Linked DNA regions of Homo sapiens: regions 2 and 3 are each linked to region 1. Evidence: promoter capture Hi-C in human tissues and cell types (Jung and others, 2019). All regions are on one chromosome and are shown on one strand. The core of a region is centred on a gene start or on the middle of the fragment in contact, and the rest is flanking DNA. Distances in the headings are between cores, read along the strand shown. Region 1 holds the start of MYO5C (myosin VC). Region 2 overlaps ONECUT1 (one cut homeobox 1). Region 3 overlaps ATOSA (atos homolog A).

Region 1 (5,065 bases), core at 1,581-4,080:
TGAGCATTACATACCTGTGATCCAGCAATTCTGCTCTGTTTATGTGCCCAACAAAAATACATATATTTGTGCATCAAAAGACACATATAAAATGTTCATAGCAGCATTATTCATAGTGGGTGTAAACTGAAGCAACCGAAATATTTATCAATAGGAGAATGAATAAATTGTAGAATATTTATACAATGGAATACTACTAGACAGGAATGAAAGACCTCAAACCGCAGCTACATGCAACAAGATGAATAAATACCATGTAAAAAGCCAAATGCAAGAGTTACACATGTGATTCCATTTATTAAAAACATCCAAAACAGGTAAAACGCATCTATGGTGATACAAATCAGAACAGTGGTTATCTTTGAGAGAAAATGATTTGAAGAAACAGAGAAAGTTTTGGGATATCGGTAATGTTCTACGTCTGGATCTGGGCGGTGGTTACTTTGGTGTGTTGATGTGTTCCATGAATAAGAATATATTGAGCTGTACACTTATTATTTGCACACTTTTCTGTATATAATTTTATTCTTCAATAAAAATTTTCTTTAAATAAAAAAGGCAGCTAGATTCTCTTTTTAACTCTGAGCAATCAGGCAGCTGTCACTACTCACCTTATAGATTTTCTTTTTCTTTATACAAAATAGAATTATTTGGGCAATAATATAAATAATTTTGTATATAAATAAATGCAAAATTAAATTTACCATGATCCTCTCTTTGTGGCATTTATCATTATTGATCCATGCCAGGCCTCTCTTTATATTTTTTGATCCCCTTTTTGAAATCTCCGATTCCATTTCTCTCCCTCATAGGTATCCACTCTTGCATATTTAATGAATGACTTTGTAATTTATCCTCCTTACCTCTATTCACACATACTTGTACCCATGAACAATATTCAGTATTGCAGTTTTTGTGAGTTTTTAAATATTAAAGACTTGGGCTAGACATCTATTCAACATTGTTTTTTATTTCTGAGTCAAGTAGATCATGTCTATTCCTACTAACAGCTGTAGAGTTTTACATGTATATACTATTTCTTTTTTTATTTTTCTCTGCTGTCTGCCATGTATATACTATTTTATTTATTCCCCTATTGATATTTAGATGCTTCCAACTCTTTGATAAATAACTATGTTGTGATGAACATCTACTTAACTGTCTCTTTGGGTGACTGTGAGAATTTTTCTGCCTACATTTATTTTCATAACTATTCTCAAATTGCTCTCCAGGATGGCAGTATATTCCCACCAGTTATGTAAGCAAAAAAAGTTTTTATTTTTTTTATTTATTTTTTTTTTTTTTTTGAGACGGAGTCTCGCTCTGTCGCCCAGGCTGGAGTGCAGTGGCGCAATCTCGGCTCACTGCAGGCTCCGCCCCCTGGGGTTCACGCCATTCTCCTGCCTCAGCCTCCCGAGTAGCTGGGACTACAGGCGCCCGCCACCTCGCCCGGCTAATTTTTTGTATTTTTAGTAGAGACGGGGTTTCACCGTGTTAGCCAGGATGGTCTCGATCTCCTGACCTCGTGATCCGCCCGCCTCGGCCTCCCAAAGTGCTGGGATTACAGGCGTGAGCCACCGCGCCCGGCCAAGTTTTTATTTTCTCACATCCTAGGCAGTATCTGAGATTGTCTAACCTAAATGTTTTTGCCAATATGATGGGTAAAAAGCAATATCTCATTGTTGTTTTCATTTGTATTTATCTGATTACTGCTAAAGTTGACATCTCCTTGTATGCTAACAAGCCATTTAAGTGTCCCCATCTGTGAATTGCCTATTAATTTTTGTCAGTTTTAAAAATTGGATTTCTTTTCTTTAACCGATTAACAATTCTTCTATATGGAAACTACTATAACCCAACATTTTAAAGATATTATCCCTCTTTTATTCCTAATAATTTCCCGGTTTTAAGTTTTAATCGTGAATCCATCTGGAGCTTATTTTTGGATGCAGTGTTTGCCACGGATCTGCTTTTATTGTTTTTCCATATAACGGGCCCATCTAATAAATATTATTTTATTTCCCTATCTGGTCCTTAAGGCTACCGTATAATGTAGGGCCCTGCTGGGGGGCTCCAGCATGTTCCATTACTCACGTATCCGTTCTCACGCAAGTGTCACACTGTTTTAATGACTACTGCTTTGTTATGTCCCTAAATATATGGCAGGACAAATCTCTCCTCTTTGAGAATTGTCTTAGTTATACAGGGCTTTTATTCTATATGAAATATAGAATCATTGTACAATTCTCCAAAAGTTCTGTAGGATTCTGACGCCAATATATTAGGCATATATATTGATTTGGGTAGAAGTGACACCTTGACCATATTAAATATTCCCAGCCAGGAAAATGGCATGTCTCCCGTTTACCTGGGCCTTCTTTTAAGCTCTTTAAGAGAATTTTAAACATTTTCTCCACAAAGGCCAAGGGCATTTTTGCGAGTGTAATCTCTGGATACTTTATATTTTCACTAATATTGTAAATATCTTGTATTGCATAGACAATGCTCATATAAAGGACCATTACTTATTTTTGTATTTGATTTTGAATACGATGACCTTGCTGGACTCTTAACACATTTCTTTGTGTTCAGTACGTTGATTCCCTTGGGTCTTCCATTTAAATGGTCGTATCCTCTGCTCTTTGAGGAGCTAACACTCGGGCCGGGCAGCCTCCGGATGCATCTGTTCCTGCCTGGCAGCGCGCCCCGGGCCCCAACCTTCTCCACCCGCGCTCCCGCCAGGTGCAGCCGCCCGGCCCCGGCCAATGGCAGCGCCGACTAGCCGGGCCAAGCTTGGAGGGACCAATCCCGCCGCTGCCCCCTCCCCTCGCCGCCAACTCGGGAACGGGAACAGGAGGCCGTTGGAAAACTTTGGGCAAGATGGCCCGGCGGTGATTTCCGCGGCGGTCTCTCCTGCGCCCGGCCTCTGCGGCGCAGGCCCAGCCCCCGAGCCTCGCACGTTCGGCAGCCCCGGCCTGGCCCCGGCCCCTCCTGCCCATGGCGGTGGCCGAGCTGTACACGCAGGTAGGAGGGTCCGCTGGGCTCCTGGGAGCGCTGTGGGGGAGCCGGCCCTGCTAACGCTGACTCGACCTGGCGCCCGGGCCACACCTGCCACACCTGCGCACCTGACACGGCAGGGCGGGCGGGCGCGCGCTGGGGGCCGCGGAGGCGCCGCGGAGGGGCCACGGGGACCGGGGACACGAGCGAGCGTCGCCCCTCCAGGGCCCCGGCGTGCTCCGTCCCTGCCCGCGGGTAAGCCCCCTCCTGGCTCCGCTGCGCCTGGGTGCCCTGTGGGTGGGAAGACCCTGTGGGAGGGGCCGCCCCCTCCGCCGCTCCGGCCTCGGGGCCTAGAATCCCCAGTGCCCAGGGGTCGCGCGTGCGTCCCCATCTCCCGGGACTGGAGCGCCTCGGTCCCTTCCTACCACACCACGGGTGGAATCAGAGTTGCCCATGCGGACGTAGGAAGCTGAGACGCCGGCCAGTCTCCTGGCCCCTCCTGGGACCCCCTTGAACGAGCTGGCATAGAAGCTTATGGCCGCAGTGTTCGGGCTGCTTTCTAGAATTCTGTGTCTTCAAAGTGCGTGAACGTGCATGTAGGCTCATCAGAAGCTGAAGCAGCCTGGGTCACAGGCTTGAGGGCACTGCAGTGGCACCAAGCGCTTGGGGAGCCCAGGGGCCACGAGGTGCAGTCGTAGGCTCTTTGCCTAACATCTGTACTGTTAGCAACAGTACAAACACCACAGTTTCTAAAGCGCCTTTCATATACCCTGACTCTGGGAAACACTAGAGCATTCCTCAGAAGCTTCCTTTCTGCTGGCTGGGGCTCCACCTCTTACCTCGGAAGGGCAGCGTTCCCACATATGTCCCAAACCCTCTGAGATGGGCTTGGGTAATTATTTGGATAAAGAGTGTGACAGTGTTAGCACTTTTGAAAAAAAAAATCCATTTGAATAGCCATAAAGCCTGATCCTCCTATACACCAGTTGGGGAAATCTAGAGACCTCAGTATTCAGACGAGTGGAACTAGAATCCATCCATTTCCCCGGACACATGCTCTAGCTTTCTACTTTAAAAGATGCTTTTGCTGTAGATAGAAAAGATAGTTATTTAAAAAATCATGTTTCAATGGTTTAAGCAAACGTTTTTCTTCTACTTTGATTACTTAGTAACAGTCCGGACACAAAGCAACCGAACTGTAGTTTCTCCTCTATTGCATCTCCATTAACTGGAGTTCTAAATGGACAGTGTTTGAATTGCCCTAGTTTTGTTCTAGAATATTTTCACCAGTGAGACTGTGAGCCCTCAGACAGCCAACAGCGCTTCTTCAGCCTTCAGTTTACTGGAAGTGAAAGAAAAGTCTTGGACTAGTCTTCGACGATACTTTGGAGGACAGAGAAAAATGCTGCTGCTGAACCTATTTGAGGTGACAGTATTTCCAGAAGCAGAAACACACAGGTGCAAGCACCCCTATTTTTAGGTGCCTCAAACCTCAGATATTTATTAAATGTCTAGTAAGTACCAGGCACAATGTAAGAAAACTGATAGGAAGGAGTTTAAAGGTACAAGCTTGGAGGGAATGAGAATCTGAGAATCCCAGAGACTGACGCAGCCTGATGGCCATTCCCACTGACCTTGTGTCCACGTAGACACCTGTGTTCCTAGGCTGCCACCTCCCTTCCTGGTGGGCAGTTAGCCCCCATTTTGTCTGTTCTGGAGGTGTGAAGGGGAGGGCCATGGCAGCCAGAGAGCGAGGTCAGGGCTTTATTCCCCAGTGTGGGTTTTGAGTGGGGGCTGGCAGAATCAAGGGTGGTGTGTTAGGACTGTTAGATTTGTTATGTATGCCAGCAGCGCCCTTGGGCTGTGGAGGAGAGAGGCCGGGGTCACGTAGCTGAATTCTCAGGTCATTCCAGCTGTTGGAAAAGAATTAGAGCTGCAGTGTTGGCCATGGAGGGTGGAGGCAGGTGAGGCTGAGAGGCTGGACTGGGGAGTGGGGTGGGGGTTGAAGGGACCAGCCAAGGATGACATTTGAGGTTAGAGTCTGTATGAGAGACAGCAGGGTGGTGCC
Region 2 (5,065 bases), core at 1,667-4,166, 480 kb before region 1:
TCTGCCTTCTGGCCCCAAAGTGCTGCAGCTTGAGATTCCATTGCTTGTGTTCTAGTAAGACAAGCTGTTAGCAAGGATATGGGTCATTAGGAACTCTTAGCCACTACTGGTGGAAACGAAAGTAAATTGGCACCTTCACTACAAAAACATAGTGTCAATGACTTGGCATCATCTTCTCAACCTGGACCTACATATATCTAGCAATTCTACCCTTTGGCATATATTATAGGTAAATTCATAAATGCTCTTAGAGACATGCAAAGACTGTTCTTGGCAGCATTGTTCCTAAGAGCAGAAAAACTGAAAAAGCCTAAACGTTCACTGACAAGGAATGCATAAATAAATCATGATATATAAAAACTATTTTTAAAAAAATGAGTAATAAACATAAATTTAGAGGATAGGGGAAGGCAGGGAGATAAGAGGCAAGAACACCCTGTAGCTTCACAAGGCAACTAATGTTCTAGTTCTTTTATTGAGTGGTGGACTCATAGATGTTCATTTTGTTTTTGTGCTTCATATCTTACATATATGATACATATTGTTTGGTAGGCAGTGATTATTATTTATTTTTAACATTGAGGAGGTAGAAACATTGTTTTTGTCTGATTCCTCAACCCAAGCAATTCAGACCAAACAAACCTCAAGACATACTCTATTGTCATTTAAGCAGGTTCTAGCCCCATACTAAATATCAGCTCTCATAGGAATTACATTCAGCCATTTTTGGACGGGAGGATAAAATAAGTAAAAGAGGGAATTTCATTAAATATGGAAAAAAGAGTTAATTTTTTCACTCATTTGAGCACCTGCTGTAGCAAGTTCCGTGCTCAGGACCGGGAATGGAATGTACAACACAATTTTTCTTTGGAACTCACAGTCTAGCAGGGAAGAGAACAAATAACTTTACATGTTTTTTTGTGTGTGTGTGTGTGTGTGTGTGTGTGTGTGTGTGTGTGTTTTCCAGGAAGGAGGAGTTTAAGGTGTGATGAAGGGACAATTTTGAAGATCTGGAGGATGAGTAGGACTTGGGACAGAAATGGAGGAAGAAGTTTCCAGGAAGAGGGAACAACAGCATGCGTGGGGGCCCTGGCTAAACTCCTTTTGTAGAAGAGCTCTTAGATCAGAATTACTATGAAGCTAAAAGCTTGTTTCTTTCCCAGCACAGCTGAGTGACACAAAACATTGCCATCAATTACAAAAGCATTCTCCAAAGCTGTGGTTTTCAGTGGTAGGGAGCCATGGACTGAGGGTGTCCTATTCCTCTAGAAGAGCAAATCAGATTGGAGGGAGAGAAGGGGGGAGAATATGTGCTGCTTAAAAAGTTTCCCCGGTGATTCTAATATAAATTCAAGTGGCAAATTAGAATAATGGTATTGAGAATTTAAGGGTAGATGACTCTTATTTTTACTCCCTTTTCCTACTTACTTCTGGAATAACCTATAGCTCTGTAGCTTACTCTGTATAACTGTGTGTTTGTGTGTGTTTATAAAATCTTTTACTTCTTTTGATCTTTTTGAAATCAAAAGTTCACTCAAAACTTCAAGATCCTTAGAGGAATAATTGATTCAACATGCTCCTCCATCTAAAAAAGTTATTAATGTTCTATAGGTCCTCACTACTCAAAGTGTGGCTCCCTAAACAGCAACATCGACCTCACCTGGGAACTTGTAAGAACTGTAGACCCTCAGGTTCCACCCCACACCTACTGAACCTGAATCTGCATTTCAGCAAGACCCCCAGGAAATTCTTGTGTCCATTAAAGTCTGAGAAGCACCACTGATGGCCATGTTACATCACTCAAAAGGTCTGTTTTCCTTCATTCGCCCAAACACTGATCGGGTGCCTCCTATGTGCCAGGCACTAGGCTGAGTACAGGGGCACGAAAGAGGAATGAGGTGTTTATTGTATCCTGAAGGAGCTCACAGGGAGGAAGCATGCAGGAAAATAAATACCGACAAAGTCTCTGATCTGGGTAGAAATAAAGTTCTGTGGGAGCAGCCAGGAAAACTGGAAAGGAGACTGAAAGGAGATGACAAAGGACCTGGTGTGTTGGTGCAGCCCAAAGGAAGTTGTGACCTGTTGTGGAATGAAATGGTCAGATTTGTGCTTTTGAAAGCATGCTGGAGAGGAAGATAATGGGAGGAAAAGTCGCAAGGGACTAGCTAGAAGTGGCAATAGATTCTGAGGGTCTGATTATATGTCATTGTCAGCAAAGGTGGAGAAAATGGGTGGCAAAATTTGAGAGCTATTTCTAAAGTCGAGTAGACATGGTGGAGAGTGAAAATGGAAATGGAACAGGCTCCTTGCTTCTGGCATGGGAAGCTGGGTGCTTGGATATACCTTTAGCTGCAGAGTGGTTATGTGGATGTCAATATAAAGATGGAATGTTTCAGAATAGTTCACCCTCTCAAATACATTCCTACGATAGGTGGGCTCTCTGGCTTCTGTACAGATTTGAGGCATCCAATCAGTTAGATTGTTTCTGCCTCACCGGAACCTGTTACTTACTGAGAGAGACATGATGTGAGCACGATGCTAATGAGGTGAAGATTGTGGGTCCTTTGGGTCCAGTTTTCACTTCCCGGTGTTGGTGGGCAGTGATGGTTACTCACATTCCATCCAGCCACTTCCCTGGGTACAAGGAGCCCTGAAGAACCAGTGGAAGGGGTTAGCCCAAATCCATCCCTGCTGTTAGAGAAACAAAAGTAACTCCCCAGTAATGGTAGCTCAAGAGCTGTCTATCTATAAACAAAGAGAACAGCAGAGTAGACAGAAGCACAGACATGTAGGTGGGGCAGACAAATGTTGGAAAGTCTTGGTTTGAGTCACTTACAAATCTATCTGTGATGGAAACTAATCAGTTTAATGGCAAGCATATTTTCATAAGAAAACACATTTTACTTTCCTCCGATCTAGTTATTTTCACAGTTGTTCCATAAGCAACAGACTTTTTTAAAGAATTGTTTTTAATTAATAAATATTTTGAACATATACTAAATGCACATCATTATTTTAATTTGAACAGCATGAAAATGTATACAGAAAAAAACAAGTTTTCCTCCCAATCATATTCCCTAAGTCCCCAAGTCCCCCTCCCTTAGAAGAAACCCCTGTTACCAGTTTCTTGTATATTCTTAAGAGATAGTCTATGGCTCTTTAAGAGTGTGTGTGTGTGTGTGTGTGTGTGTGTGTGTGTGTGTGTTCCTCTTTAAAAATAATCAAGGGCCTCTCCCATCTCCCAAAAGATAACTTTCTAGGGAAAGTACTAAATGGCTCTTACTTCTTTTAATTATTTGGCCAGAAAATTGCCTCCCTAGAAGATGCTGCCCAGTGCAATTATCTGAGTAATGAAATTAAAAGAGAAGTAGTACAGGGTGACCACCCCTCTGCGTAGGTTGAAAATGCTCCCAAGTGCTTCAGTGGTGGTCCCCTTATTCTAGCTTATTCTAGCTCTTTTTTTTTTTTTTTAGACAGTCTTGCTCTGTCACCCAGGCTGGAGTGCAGTGGCGCAATCTCAGCTCACTACAACCTCCGCCTCCTGGGTTCAAGTGATTCTCCTGCCTCAGCCTCCCGAGTAGCTGGGATTACAGGTGTGTACCACTGCACCAGGCTACAATTTGTATTTTCAGTAGAGACAGAGTTTCGCCATGTTAGCCAGGCTGGTCTTGAACTCCTGACCTCAGGTGATCTGCCCACCTCAACCTCTTATTCTAGCTCTTTTATGAAAGACAATTCAATGTGTGAAAGATGTTCAAAATGCAAGCTTATAAAACATTATATCTACCATACAGTTTCCTCTTTTAAAGTAATAAATACACTCAGACACAACTACAATATCATTTTGGAGCACTACCCTCAACACAAGGGTGGAGATTTTTTCCAAAAAGTTAATTATTGTACCGCTTATATATACTTTTTTGAATTCTGCTTTTGTCATGACATAGCCTTAGTAAATTTTTTTTAACATTTGTTTGATACTTACCATGTTCAAGCACCTTGTATCTTATTTCTTAATTTATGTTTTAATTTCAATGCTTTTTTAAAAGGTAACTTCTGGCCAGGTGCGGTGGCTCACGCCTGTTATCCCAGCACTTTGGGAGGGCGAGGTGGGAGGATCACGTGAGGTCAGGATTTCAAGACCAGCCTAAGCAACATGGTGAAACCCCGTCTCTACTAAAAATACAAAATTAGCTGGGCATGGTGGCGCTTGCCTGTAGTCCCAGCTATTTGGGAGGCTGAGGCAGGAGAATCACTTGAACCCTGGAGGCGGAGGTTGCAATGAGCCAAGATCAAGCCATTGCACTCCAGCTTGGGCAACAAGAGCGAAACTCTGTCTCAAAAAATAAATAAATAAATAAATAAATAACTTCATTTCTTGTTGCAAATTATTAGTATTATATACATCCTTTGAGCTGGAGCTGCAGGGTAAAACACTAATAAAGAAAAAAAATAAAAGAATCACCCACAGCACCCCACACAGATAACCCTCTGTGTGTGTGTGTGTGTGTGTGTGTGTGTGTGTGTGTGTGTGTATCCTTCCAATCTTTTCCCTATGGGATGGTACATACTACTACTTTGTAACTTTTCAAACTAAAAAATCCCATTATTAAATTTATGGTGGAGTATTTGAAAACACATAAAAGAATAATGGAGACAATAAAAAATCTCTGGTAATTCCATCATCCCTGTCCTTTCCCAAATATATCATGAATAGCATTCATTTATTCAACATATAGATAGAGAGAGAGGATATTTGCAAGAGCCTTCCTTCTCTCTCATTATCCATTTATGATTGGAGTGGACTCAGGCATTCCTTTTTTTTCCAGTGGCTTACAATTCATTACTGTACTTAACTATTTTGGTGCTCAAATTGTCCCAGATTTCACTGACGAGAGCCCTTTCCCTCTGACTCCTGTGTCCCTATGACAATGCTTACATTTTTTTTTAACTTTCTGGCATCATAAGATGTTCCAAGCTCATTTGGTACATATTCTGCCCCAATCCTAGAATGTGCCACTTCTTTGATGAGCCCTGGTTTATCCTGGTGGGGAAACATGTTAGA
Region 3 (5,065 bases), core at 1,598-4,097, 300 kb before region 1:
TGATGACTATTGATGTTGATCCTCTTTTCCTGCACTTACTTGCCAAATAAGCATATATGTTTTCCAAATATTTTTTCCAAGTCTGAAGTTTGGCTGTACATTTTTGTGATAGTGTCTTTACAAGAGTAAAAGATTTTAAGTTTTTTGATGTCGAATTTTCTTTATGAATCTTACTTTTGATGTTGAATCTAAAAAAACATTGCCTAGCCCAAGGCTTCTTTACACTAATACTGTTGATATTTGAGTTAGATAATTCTTCTGAAGGGCTGTTTGTGCATTGTGGGATGTTTAGCAGAATCTCTGGCCTCTACCCACTTGATTCCAATAGTACCCCCATGCCTAGTTCTAGCAACCAAAAATGTCTTCATATATTACCATATATCCCCTGGGTGAGAACCACTGGCCCAACCCAAGGTCACAAAGCTTTTTTTCTGTTTTCTTCTGAAAGTTTGTATTAGCTCATACGTTTAGATCTGTGATCTATTTTGAGTTAATTTTTACATGATAGGAGGTGTGCGATCAAGGTTCCCTTTTACGCATATGGATGTTCAATTTTCTAGTCTTGAAATCAGGTAATGTGAGTCCTAACTTTATTGTTCTTTCTCAGAATTGCTTAAACTATTCTAGCTCCTTTATCTTTTCATATAAATTTTAGAATCATCTTGTCTATTTCCACAAAATAGCCTGCTGAGATTTTGTTTGGCCTACATTAATACAGGTCGATTGGAGGAAAATTGACATCTTAAAAATATAAAGTCTTTCAATCCCTGAAATTCATTTATTTATATATTCTTTTATTTGTTTCATCAGTGTTTTATAGTTTTTAGCATGCATATCTTGGACATCTTTTTTATTTTTAATAGGGGTAGGGACTTTTCTCTGTCACCCAGGCTGGAGTGTAGCTGCGTGATCATACCTCACTGCAGCCTGGATCTCCTGGGTTGAAGCATTCATCCCACCTCAGCCTCCCAAGTAGCTAGGACTCTACGCTTGTACCACCACACCCAGCTAATTTTTTAAAAAATTTTTGTAGAAATAGGGCCCTGCTGTGTTTGCACAGGCTTTTCGTAAACTCCTGGCCTCAAGCAGTCTACTCACCTCAGTCTCCCAAACTGCTGGGATTACAAGTGTAAGCCACCACGCCTAGCCCAGATTTTTGATATCTTTTTGTAGATGTATACCTAAGTATTTCATGTTTTCTGGGATATTGTAACTTAAAAATTAATTGTCAATTGTTCATTGCTAGTATTTTTAAATGAATGTATGTGTGTGTGTGTTATCTACAAAAAATCGCCAGTGATCTTGCTCAACTCACTCACTAATTTCAGTAGATTTTAAAAAATAATCCTTGGGATTTTTCTACATAGACAGTCTTGTCATCTATAAATAGGGATAGTTTTGGCTTTTTTATTTTCGTGCCTTTTTTTTTTTTCTTGTCATACTGCACTGAGTGGGGCCTAGCATATATGCTTGTATATTAAATTTACAAAAATCTAAAATATCTCAGATAAAGTCAGCAACTAATATTGGTCATTTGCCTTAATCCATAAACATTTTTGTATGTACCTCTCCTATGAAAATTTTTTGCACCTTCAGAATAGACTTTTTATTTGGGAAATATTTGTTGAGTACTTACTATGTGCTAGGAATACAAAGTTTAAATGATAAAGTTCCTGCCTTAGAGACGTTTATTGTCTACTGGAGAAGGTGGGCATATAATTTACCCAGGTGAGTAAATAATTTATAAACTCAAGTAATTAGCATTGTAATAGAAGTTGCCTAGTACTTGTGTATCTACTATCTCTGCTAAAAGGATTGAGGAAAGCTTTACTGAGGAGCTGTCATTTGAGCTTGGTCACAAAAGATGAGAAGGAATTTGCCAGGTAAATTTGTTCAGGAATCAGAGATTCTAGACAAAGGGAACTTCATGTGCAAACGTAAAAGAGCATGGCAATGTTGGAAAGGATCAACTGGAGCTAGAGCATGGGACTCTGTATATGTTGGGAGAGATGAAATGAGAGGCATGGTGGAGCTTAAGTGCTGTGCTATGAATGTTGACCTCATCCTATAGACAGCAGGAAACAAAGTTTTTAAGTGGTAGGTGATACTATAAGGCTTTTTTCAAAAAAAGAAAAAGAACTCTGGCAGTAGTACAGAGGATACACTACAGATGGAAAGACTAATTAGAAGATGTAGCATTTATTCAGAGGAGAGGTTATGAGGATCACCTAGGTCACTAGGATAGTGGTAGTAGTGGGGATGGAAATGAGGCCCTGAGACTGAGAGGTAAAATCAACAGGATATGGATTGGATTGATTAGAGGGCAAAAAGGAGATATAGAAGGTTGATTGTGACCCAGGTCTTTTGGCTTTATCTTTTTGATCAGGAGATTAGAATTGCTGATATGTCACTGTTTCACATTTAGACTACACAAACTTTTAGAATCATGAGGCTTTGTAGCATTTCTTTTCAAAGAATTAATCAAAGGAATGCTACTCACATTTCATGATGTATACATATATGTGTTGATATATTTATATAAAATAAAGCTTGTGAAAAGTTTTAAATGTTTCTCATAAGTGGGAAAATAACCACTAAATTTTAAAAGTAGTTATCTCAGTGAGTGACCTTGGGGGAGGGATGGATAAGGAGCTTCTGTACTATTTCTGTACTTCTAAACTTTTTATAAATGCACATTTTTATGTTTTAAACTAAAACATATCACATACTACAGTATTTATAAGAGAAGCAATTATTTCTCGGTTAGAATTATAAGTGCTTGACTTCATCTTTTGATGGAACTTCCATATATAACCTGTTAGGTTTTCAGGTGTTTCTCTGTGTCTAGCACCATGAATAGGCACTGTGAGGGATAAATACCTGCTCTGATAGAGCATATTTTTAAATTTACAGATATAAAAACAACATAGTAAACAATTAGGCCTAACTAATGCTGAAGTTGCAGGAGAGTTCAGTGTGAGTTGGAATAGTGAGAGAAGACCAAACTGTTGTAGGATGGTAGAAGACTGATGGGAGATGCAGTTGACTTCAAGTCAGATGAAAAGCAGAAATAAGGACATGGCAATGGTAACAACCACTGTTCTAGTGCTAGAAAGCATAGTAATATATTTCTTTTAATCACTTCTCTGCCTTTAGACTAAGTGTATATTTCTTTAAATAGAAAAAAAATGAATGTGTTAGCTTTTTTAATTGAGTTTTTAAAATTATTTTGTCTTCCAGGAATCTGTCTTGAACTATCGTTTCGATCCTCTCGGCATTGTTGATGGTTTTACTGCCGAGGTAGGGGCAAGTGGTGCTTTCTGCCCCACACATTTGACTCTTCCAGTTGAAGTGTCATTCTACAGTGTTTCAGATGACAATGCTCCCTCTCCTTATATGGCAAGTATTTTTTATATTGTATGTTTTCCTGCCAAATCAACCAACTTAATGACAAATTTAAGTGCTTTGATGCAGTACTTGAAAATATAAATCATTTCCTAACAGCTGAATACAAACTAATATGCCAAAATATTACCTCACAACTTCTTTCTAAGCTAGTTCAAACAACAGATAACCTCTTTTGCATTTAAGGATGGTACTAAAAATGTACTTATTTCTCTTTGTCTTGAAAAAATGATAAAAATTGATTAGTGACACTGTAATTCCATCTTGCTGAGTTCACACACATTCTCAAATGCTTAGTGTGCACTGTGTCCTCTAGTCCTACAAGGCTTTGGTGACATAAGGCTTCTGTATGGCCCTTTTACTCCCTTTTCGGTTTGGTTTGTCTTTGGGCCTATTTTTTTCTAATCCTAGGGTTCTTTTTTTTTTTTGACAGCATCTCACTCTCTTGCCTAGGCTGGAATGCAGTGGTGCAGTCATAGCCCACTGTAGCCTCAAACTTCTGGCCTCAAACCATCCTCTTGCCTTGGAGCTCCTAAATAGCTGGGTCTACAGATATGCGCCACCATGCCTAGCTAATTTTTATGTTTTGTAGAGGCAGGGCCTCCCTATATTGCCCAGGCTGGTCTTGAACTCCTGGCCTCAAGCAGACCTCCCACTTTGGCCTTCCAAGTGTTGGGATTACAGGCATGAGCCACCACAACTGGCCTAATCCTAGAGTTCTTTAGGATACTAGCTACTTCAGACTCACGCTAATGTCTTAATGGAGAGTGAAATAACTAAGAGGAGTTACAGCAAGCTTGTCCGGCCTACAGCCCACATGCAACCCAGGAAGGCTTTGAATGTAACCCAACACAAATTTGTAAACATTCTTAAAACATTATGAGATTTTTTTGTGTGATTTTTGTTTTTTAGCTCATCAGCTATTGTTAGTGTTAGTATATTTTATGTGTGGCCCAAGACAATTCTTCTACCAGTGTGGCCCAGGGAAGCCAAAAGATTGGACACCTCTGAGTTATAGTGTTGAGCCTTAAGATCAATCTTATGATTTCACCTTTCCAATTTTTTTATTCCAATGGCTTGTGGATAATATAAGCATTCATTTGCAAAAACAATACTGAGTACTAGTATATGATTAGTATCAGCCCTCTTCCAAAAGACAAAGAGAGACAAGTAGCTAGCCATGCAGGTCTGTAAAAAGTTGACAGTGATGGTATCAAATATGGAGTCAAATCTGGGTTTTCATTTTAGGTGTTACTTTTGAGAAATGCAGATTACTGTAGGCATTGAACATTATAGCCTAGTCTTGCTGCTTGAATTTCCTAACTTACTATCTGGCCCAACTGCTTCCTCTCCTAACACCCCTCTCCACAACCTTCTAGGTTTTCAAGGACATTAGTAACAATGACTTTTGTCATTAATAAAAGCTGTAAAAAGGGACATCTATACAATTGAGAAACAACAGAGAGGAAAGGAAGCTACTTTTAGGAACCTATATGTGGCCTACTCATTACTGGCCCAGTTTCTTCAAGGAAAGCTTACTCCATTCTAAGGGTGAAGATTTTAGTCAAGAGCTTGATTAGTGTTTGACACTTTGATAGAAAAAGCAGAGTGGTGACTGCTTATTTATTCAAAGTTTTCTTTTCCCAACAACGTTCACATC

What was found. Contacts are between HindIII fragments. The study calls those that stand out against the background at their distance.
Region 2: a contact is called between a fragment that was not itself captured here and the fragment with the promoter of MYO5C in region 1, in 1 of the 25 tissues and cell types used here (lymphoblastoid cells).
Region 3: a contact is called between a fragment that was not itself captured here and the fragment with the promoter of MYO5C in region 1, in 2 of the 25 tissues and cell types used here (dorsolateral prefrontal cortex and lymphoblastoid cells).

What each region holds. Positions count from the first base shown.
Region 1 is chr15:52,293,569-52,298,633 of GRCh38, reverse strand. MYO5C (myosin VC) reads left to right here and starts at 2,830. Exons shown (of 41, transcript NM_018728.4): 1 at 2,830-3,024. The coding sequence starts at 2,998. It overlaps LOC105370819 (a long non-coding RNA gene), which reads right to left and starts at 3,750. Exons shown (of 4, transcript XR_932250.3): 1 at 3,423-3,750. RefSeq lists a silencer at 3,007-3,166 and an enhancer at 4,608-4,777. The HindIII fragment of the contact is 3,447 bases long and covers 738-4,184 here.
Region 2 is chr15:52,773,593-52,778,657 of GRCh38, reverse strand. All of the region lies in intron 1 of ONECUT1 (one cut homeobox 1), which reads left to right. Among named protein-coding and RNA genes, the nearest start is that of ONECUT1, 14 kb to the left of the region's middle. The HindIII fragment of the contact is 4,815 bases long and covers 509-5,065 here.
Region 3 is chr15:52,591,912-52,596,976 of GRCh38, reverse strand. It overlaps ATOSA (atos homolog A), which reads left to right. Exons shown (of 13, transcript NM_001385016.1): 10 at 3,241-3,399. Among named protein-coding and RNA genes, the nearest start is that of ARPP19, 25 kb to the right of the region's middle. The HindIII fragment of the contact is 3,446 bases long and covers 1,125-4,570 here.